2 separate regions of the Homo sapiens genome follow, and region 2 is linked to region 1. Evidence: promoter capture Hi-C in human tissues and cell types (Jung and others, 2019). All regions are on one chromosome and are shown on one strand. The core of a region is centred on a gene start or on the middle of the fragment in contact, and the rest is flanking DNA. Distances in the headings are between cores, read along the strand shown. Region 1 holds the start of ACD (ACD shelterin complex subunit and telomerase recruitment factor). Region 2 overlaps LRRC36 (leucine rich repeat containing 36).

Evidence for each region. The method cuts DNA at HindIII sites, captures the fragments that hold promoters and counts their contacts. A contact is called where the count stands out against the background at its distance.
Region 2: a fragment that was not itself captured here is called in contact with the fragment with the promoter of ACD in region 1 in 2 of the 25 tissues and cell types used here (lymphoblastoid cells and mesendoderm cells).

What each region holds. Positions count from the first base shown.
Region 1 is chr16:67,658,065-67,662,366 of GRCh38, reverse strand. ACD (ACD shelterin complex subunit and telomerase recruitment factor) reads left to right here and starts at 2,107. Exons shown (of 12, transcript NM_001082486.2): 1 at 2,107-2,245; 2 at 2,322-2,464; 3 at 2,572-2,665; 4 at 2,754-2,830; 5 at 2,948-2,992; 6 at 3,104-3,138; 7 at 3,288-3,439; 8 at 3,551-3,647; 9 at 3,726-3,812; 10 at 4,005-4,302. The coding sequence starts at 2,147. It overlaps PARD6A (par-6 family cell polarity regulator alpha), which reads right to left and starts at 1,407. Exons shown (of 3, transcript NM_001037281.2): 1 at 1,266-1,407; 2 at 690-912; 3 at 1-471. The coding sequence starts at 1,328. RefSeq lists silencers at 1,141-1,620, 1,931-2,040 and an enhancer at 2,194-2,777. The HindIII fragment of the contact is 13,160 bases long and covers 1-4,302 here.
Region 2 is chr16:67,330,511-67,334,553 of GRCh38, reverse strand. All of the region lies in intron 1 of LRRC36 (leucine rich repeat containing 36), which reads right to left. Among named protein-coding and RNA genes, the nearest start is that of LRRC36, 5.7 kb to the right of the region's middle. The HindIII fragment of the contact is 7,189 bases long and covers 1-4,043 here.

The sequences.
Region 1 (4,302 bases), core at 858-3,357:
TATTGCGCTGGTTGGCGGGCTTGACAGTGACAATGAGGTTATGGCTGTTGGCAACCATCATGTCCGTCACTTGGTCCAAGGTCTTCCCGGCTACTTCAATGCCATTGACCTCGAGGATCTCATCACTGACCGCCAGCAGCCCTGTACTCTCAGCCAGACCCCCACGTACCAGGCGGGAGATGAAGATTCCTGGAACCCGCTCCAGGCCCTGGGGAGCCACACGCACGCTCATGCCATCTCGGATGTAGAAGCCCAGGGGGCGGTCTGAACCATGCTTGTGCAGCCGCACCCGTCGGTGGGTCTCAGGCAGTAGGTCCACGTCTATGACTGAGGAAACCTGGCGGAAATCTTGGGGCAGGCTGATTAGCAAGGGTGGCCGGGTGCGCAGGGGTGCCACTGGCCGCAGCAAGAGCCCTTTCTTGCGCCGCTGCAGAGAGTTGGAGGCAAAAGCCAGGCCGCTGGAGTCAGCTTCTGCTGCAGAAGAGGGGGGATGTTGAGATCAGAGACCTGCTCCCCGACTTGGGCTGTTTACAGGGGGCACTGTAGCTATTTCCTACCACTTAGAGGTCAAGCCAAGGGCAGGGACTGCAGAGGGTGACGCTTGGGTACCCTGGGCATGGACTAACCCTTGTAGACCTGCCCCACAGACACCTTACCCCACAGAGGCTGCCCACTGTACCCCTCCTCACCCCGCTTCTGCACCAGTAGGCGCAGTGGCGGGGGCCCGCTGGCCAGGGCCCGGTGCAGGCTGTCGTCGTTGGTGAGGGGCAGCAGGTCGCCATGAGCATCCGTATAGCCAAGTAGCACGTCCAGGCCCGGGATCTGGTGCACCGCCCGCAGCAACCGCGAGAACTCCTGGAAGCCGCTCACCGAAGCGCGAGGCAGCGCGAAGCGTCGGAACTCGGCGTCAAACTGGAAGTCGGGGTTGGGGGAGAGGAGGAGTCAGGACAGCCTGCGCCCCTTTCTCACCGCAGGCTGGCAGGAATGGGAAAGATGCGGCTGCCGCTTTTGCGGCAGCCTTAAGCCCAGACCTCAGCTCCAGTACCAGGGACGCTGTCCAAGGTCTTCTTACCGCCCTCCAGGTACTCAGGCCACAGAGAGCTGGAGACCAGCAGTGGAGGAAGGAAGACGGATGGGGGAAGGCGAGCAGAAAAGCAGAATGGGACTTGGAGGATAGAGGGAAGAGGTGGCGGGGACCAAGGAGCTGGGAAGGGGAGAAAGAGGGAATTGGGAGCGCCTAGGGCCGAGGCCGGAGGAGCCCTTACTTTGCTCTTCACCTCGACGATGCTATCGGGACTGCGCGCCGGAGTCCTCTGCGGCCGGGCCATGGCGGGGCCGGGCGGGCCGGGGACGGTGCCCCAGGCGGCCCGCCGAGGCGCAGGTGCACAGCCCGGCCGGCCCGCCCGCGCCGCCCCGCCCCTGGCGGTAGCACACGCCCCGCCTTCCCATCCGGAGCGTGACGTCAAGGGGGCAGCGACGCAGAGTGGAACGCGGAGTCCACGTTTCCTAGGAAACGGAGCCGTGGATGGAGAGGAGCCGTCCTCCGCTCTTGCGTCATCACGCTGAGGTCCGCGCGCCCCCGGAGTCTGGGGAGCAGGGCTCCGCCAATCCGAGGGGAGGGCGAAGGAAGTACCATTTATTTAGCGCTGTGTGTGTGCTCTTATTTCCACTGGCCTTACAAGACCGTGCACTGTGTAGATGAGGAAACTGAGTCATAATAAATATGTGCTGAACCGTTCGGGGGTCACACGGTGCTGAAATGGTTTCGAGTCAACTCGCTCGGACGGCACTCGGCCTCAGCCTCCGGCCCTGGAACCCTCTCCAGGGACGGGACCAGCCCTTGTTCTGTTCCCTACCGGTACCACAGGAATCTTGACGAACGGCCCAAATGCCTGGCCGCTGTCAGAGTGACGCCGCGATGAGAGTAAACGGGCCAGCATCCCGTGCACCAGCGGGGTGGACCAGCGGGAGTCTGCACACAGGCCCCCGAGCAGGACGCCCTCGTGCGCAGGCGCGGGGTGTACGTGGGCGGGGCCTCCTCCTCCGGCCCCGCCCAGCGAAGGAGCTTCCTCTTCCGAGGAAAGGCGGGGCCTGGGCGCCCGCGGGAAACCCGGGCCCGTTGCATCCGCTGGGTGTAGCCGTGGGGATGGCAGGTTCGGGGAGGCTGGTCCTACGGCCCTGGATTCGGGAGCTGATTCTGGGGTCAGAGACACCCTCCAGTCCACGAGCCGGGCAGCTGCTTGAGGTGAGCCCCCATTCAGGGCCCGGAGACCGAGGCGGAGGCCCGGGGTGGTGGGATTGACGCCGCTCGCCGCCGTCAGGTACTACAGGACGCCGAGGCCGCGGTCGCGGGCCCATCCCACGCCCCTGATACGTCCGACGTCGGGGCCACGCTGCTTGTGTCTGACGGGACCCACAGTGTCCGATGCCTGGTGACGCGGGAGGCCCTGGACACCTCGGACTGGTGAGAGGCCCCGCGCGGCTCTGGAGGTCGGAGTCCGGCAGGAGAGCGCGAGGTGGGCGGGCCTTGTGTTCAGGTGGGCCCGGCAGTGAGGATCCTGCTTGTTGCAGGGAGGAGAAGGAGTTCGGCTTCCGCGGGACAGAGGGCCGGCTGCTGCTGCTGCAGGACTGCGGGGTTCATGTCCAGGTCGCTGAGGGCGGCGCGGTGAGTGGTGAGACTGCCTTGGGCGGGTTACCGGGCATGACTCTTCGTGACGATTCTGAGACCCCCCCTTCCCCCCGAACTCCTCCAGCCCGCAGAGTTCTATCTCCAGGTGGACCGCTTCAGCCTGCTGCCCACGGAGCAGCCCCGGCTACGGGTGCCTGGTTGGTAAGTGATGCCTCCGCCCTCCAGCAGCTCTCCCCACCCCAGCCTGGCCGGCGCTGGCAGACGCCTATGGGGTAGGAGGGCTTGGGCCCCCATTAACTACCCTTCTCTTTTTCTTAGCAACCAAGACTTAGATGTTCAGAAAAAGCTCTATGACTGCCTTGAGTGAGTCTGGGGTTGGGCTCGGGGGCCACGTGTTGTTTGGTGAGGGGATGGTGTATCTAGGTAGACAGGCCTCAGCATGGTTCCTGAGTCCTGGCCACTCTCTTCCTGTAGGGAGCACCTTTCAGAGTCCACCTCGTCCAATGCAGGTACTGTAGAGCTTGACCAGTGATCCTAACACGCTGTGCAGTGATCTCTCCAGCCTTAACCTTATGCTTCCTCAATAAGCTGTCTTCCCCCTCACCCTCCTGGTCCTCCCCTTTAAGCCTTGACTCATCCCATGGTCCCCTGTCCCCAGGCCTATCACTGTCCCAGCTTCTGGATGAAATGCGGGAGGACCAGGAGCATCAGGGGGCACTCGTGTGCCTGGCTGAAAGCTGCCTGACACTGGAGGGCCCTTGCACAGCACCCCCTGTCACCCACTGGGCTGCCTCACGATGCAAGGCCACGGTCAGTCTGGGGATTTGCTTGGGAGATGTCAGGGTGAGGAGTTGGGCAAGGGTCATATCCCACAGGACATGAGAGTAAACGGGCCTGTCCTACAGAGTTCATGTCCCACAGGGAGAAGCTGTGTACACTGTCCCCAGCTCAATGCTGTGCATCTCTGAGAATGACCAGCTAATTCTGAGCTCTCTAGGCCCCTGTCAGAGGACACAGGGTAAGGGGGACTGGAGAGGTTGGGGGGATACCTGGGGCCCAGGTCCACAGTGCTGATAAGACTTCCTGAACCCCCCAGGCCCTGAGCTGCCCCCACCAGACCCGGCTCTGCAGGACCTATCTCTGACCCTCATAGCCTCTCCTCCTTCCTCACCCAGTTCCTCAGGTGAGGTGATGCACAGGTCACAGGCACTCACTGCCGCCTGTCAGTCAGGTTCCCGGGCTGCGCAGGATGCTGTGAAAGGTGCACGGTGGGTGGGGGATGAACACGGTCCCTGCAGTCCTGTCTGAGCTCGCAGGCCACTCAGCTGCCCTGAGCGGAGAGGGCTGTGCCTACAATAAGTCCCCTCCTCCTCAGGAACCCCGGCCTTACCCGGCCACATGTCATCCGAGGAAAGTGGTACCAGCATCAGCCTTCTGCCTGCCCTGTCCTTGGCTGCTCCAGACCCAGGGCAGAGAAGCAGCTCCCAGCCCTCACCAGCCATCTGCTCAGCCCCTGCCACCCTGACCCCCAGGTCCCCACACGCCAGCCGTACCCCCAGCTCCCCACTCCAGAGCTGCACTCCCAGTCTCTCACCCCGTAGCCATGTCCCCAGTCCACACCAGGCTCTTGTGACCAGGCCCCAGAAACCTAGCCTGGAGTTCAAGGAGTTTGT
Region 2 (4,043 bases), core at 1,459-3,958, 330 kb after region 1:
TGGGAGTTCGAGACCAGCCTGGCCAACATGGTGAAACCCCGTCTCTACTAAAAATACAAAAATCAGCCAGGCATGGTGGCACACGCCTGCAGTCCCAGCTACTTGGGAGGCTGAGGCATGAGAATCACTTGAACCCAGGAGGCGGAGGTTGCTGTGAGCCGAGATCGTGCCACTGCATTCCAGCCTGGGCAACAGAACAAGACTCTGCCTCAAAAAATAAAAAATAATGGTGGACGGCCAGGCGCGGTGGCTCACGCCTGTAATCCCAGCACTTTGGGAAGCCGAGGCGGGCGGATCACGAGGTCAGGAGATCGAGACCATGGTGAAACCCGGTCTCTACTAAAAATATGAAAAATTAGCCGGGCACAGTGGCAGGCACCTGTAGTCCCAGCTACTCGGGAGGCTGAGGCAGGAGAATGGTGTGAATCTGGGAGACAGAGCTTGCGGTGAGCCGAGATCCACGCCACTGCACTCCAGCCTGGGCAACAGAGTGAGACTCCATCTCAAAAAAATAAATAAATAAAAATAATAATAATAATGGTGGACACGACATAATTGTCAAAAACCATAGAACTGTACAACACAAAAAATGAGCTCTAATGTAAACTATGGACTTTAGTTAATAATCGCATCAATATTGGTTCATAAATTGTAATATATCACAATAATGCAAGATATTAAAATTAAGGGAAACGGGGTGGGTGGGGAGAGGTGCAAGGAAGGTAAGCGTATATGAGAACTCTCTGTACTTTATGCCCAATTTCTCTGTAAACCTAAAACTGCTCTAAAAAATAAAGTCTATTAATTTTTTTAAAAAAGGAATGAAGTATTAATACATGCTAAAACATGAATGAATAATGAAAATACTATGCTAAGTCAAAGAAGCCAGACAGAAAAGGCTACATATTATATGATTCCAATGATATGAAATACCCAGAAGAGGCAAATCCACAGAGACAGAAAGCAGTTTACTGGTTGCCAGGAGCCAGGGGTAGTGGGAAATGAGGTGTGACTGCCTAATGGGTTGATGAAAATGTTCTGGAACTATATATAGGTAGCAATGATGCTTGCACAACATTGTAAATGTACAAAATGACCCTGAATTGTATATTTTTTAAATGGGGCTACGTGTGGTGGCTCATGCCTGTAATTTCAGCACTTTGGGAGGCGGAGGCAGGTGGATCACTTGAAGTCAGGAGTTCAAGACCAGCCTGGCCAACATGGTGAAACCCTGTCTCTACTAAAAACACAAAAATTAGCAGGGTATGGTGGGACGTGCCTGCAGTCCCACCTACTCAGGATGCTGAGGCAGGAGAATCACTTGAACCTGGGATAGAGGTTGCAGTGAGCTGAGGTCGGGCCACTGCACTGCAGCCTGGGCAATAGGGCAAGATTCTTATCTCAAAATAAATAAATAAATACTAAAACGGTGAACTTTATAGTATGTGAATTATATCTTTTTAAAATGCACCCATCTCTACAAAAAAAGAAAAAATTAGCTGGGCATGGTGGTGCACACCTGTAGTCCCAGCTACTCAGTAGGCAGAGTCAGGAGGATTGCTTGAGCCCAGGAGGTCGGGACTGCAGTGAGCCATGATCATGCCACTGCACTCCAGCTTGGGCAACAGAATAAGACCATGTTTTTTTTAAAAAAAAATAAATAAATAAAATAAATAAATAAATAAAATTTTCCTGACTTTGAGGGCAGTGTATTGGTAATTCTGTGGTATGTTATGATCTAACACCCTGAGAGTCTGTTAACATGGGACAAAAGCTAAGGACAATTATGGTTTCCATCAATGACCCACAGCATTTCTCATGCCTTTCACTGCAGTCTATTTTGAAGAGCAGACATTTTAACATTTTAAGAAGGAATGTGAATTATTAAAATGATAAACTGCCACAAAGACAAACATTCTTTAATGATTCACATGAATGCATGTCTTAAGAGGTTATGCATTTCGTTTCAGTGTTTATTTATTTATTTATTATTTTTTTTTGAGACGGAGTCTCGCTCTGTCACCCAGGCTGGAGTGCAATGGCACCATCTTGGCACACTGCAAGCTCTGCCTCCCAGGTTCACGCCATTCTCCTGTCTCAGCCTCCCAAGTAGCTAGGACTACAGGCGCCCACCACCATGCCCAGCTAATTTTTTTGTATTTTTAGTAGAGACAGGGTTTCATCATGTTAGCCAGGGTTGTCTCGATCTCCTGACCTCGTGATTCGCCCTCCTCAGCCTCCCAAAGTGCTGGGATTACAGGCGTAAGCCACCGCGCCTGGCCGTTTCAGTGTTTATAAAGAGTGAAGACAAATCAGAGAACAAATCAAACACTGCACAGCATAGATGCCAAGAATAAAAGAATGATCTTCCAATTTTAATATATGGGTTACATAACCCCAGTGGGCAAAAATTTGCTATTTGAAAATAACAAATCAAGTAGTCTCTCTAATGAAAACCATTTACAGCTCATTTGGAAATTGAATTAACAACCTTTAACAAAGCTTATTTATAATGACAATGAATGTTTCTAATAAATAAAACTTTTTCTTTTTCTTTTTTTTTTTGAGATGGAGTTTCGCTCTCTTTGCCCAGGCTGGAGTGCAATGGTGTGATCTTGGCTTACTGCAACCTCCGCCTTCAGGGTTCAAGCGATTCTCCTGCCTCAGCCTCCCAAGTAGCTGGGATTACAGGCATGTGCCACCCCGCCCAGCTAATTTTTATATTTTTAGTAGAGATGGGGTTTCAACATGCTGGCCAGGCTGGTCTCAAACTCCCAACCTCAGGTGATCCACCCCCCTCGGCTTCCCAAAGTGCTGGGATTACAGGCGTGAGCCACTACACCTGGCCATAAAACTTTTTTAAAAAGACCTCAGGAGTCAACTTGAAAGATCACCTATTAACTAAAGTTAGGATAAACTGAACATCAATTATGATAAGAACTATAATGGATTAAAACTTACATTGAAATATATTGCTATGGTTTGAACGTCCCCTCCAAAACTCATGATGAAATGTATTAATTTATTCAGAGATAGGGCCTTGCTCTGTCAACTAGGCTGGAGGGCAGTAGCACTATCATAGTGCACTGCAGCCTAAAACTCCTGGGGTCAGAGGATCCTTCCACTTCAGCCTCCTGAGTAGCTGGGACTACAGGTACACACCACCAACACCCAGTTAATTTTTAAATTTTTTGTAGAGACAGGATCTTGCTGTGTTGCCCAGGCTGGTCTCAAATACCTGGCCTCATCCTCCTCCCTGGCCTTCCAAAGTGTGTAAGCCGCCATGCCCAGCTTTCATGTTGAAACGTAATTGCCAATGTAACAGCACTGCGAGGTGGGGCCTCTAAGAGGTGATTAGGTCAACGGTGGCTTCATGCTGTTATCATGGAGTTAGTTATCACGGGAGTTAGCTATCCTAATAAAGGAATTAGTTCAGTCTTCTCTCTCTCTCTCTCTCTCTCTCTCTCTCTCTCTCTCTCTCTCTTTCTCTCTCACATCTCACACATGCACCTTCTGCCCTTCCACCATGGAATGACCCTCACCAGATGTTGGCACCATGCTCTTGGACTTCTCAGCCTCCAGAACCATGAGCCAAATCAACTTCTGTTCTTTATAAATTACCTAGTCTATGGTATTCTGTTATGACAAGAGAAAAGGGACTAAGACATTTATTTATTTATTTATTTATTTAGACTGAGTCTCAGTCTTTCGTCCAGGCTGAAGTGCAGTGGTGCGATCTCAGTTCACTGCAACCTCTGCTTCCCAGGCTCAAGTGATTCTCCTGCCTCAGCCTCCTGAGTAGCTGGGATTATAGGCACCTGCCACCATGCCGGGCTAATTTTTTTTGTATTTTTAGTACAGATGAGGTTTCACCATGTTGGACAGACTGGTCTTGAACTCCTGACCTCAGGTGATCCATCCTCCTTGGCCTCCCAAAATGCTGGGATTACAGGCGTGAACGACCATGCCCAGCCCTAAGACATATATTTAAATCGATGAGTTTATAATGATACTGAGAAAGCAAAACAGTCCTCACTGGTCAC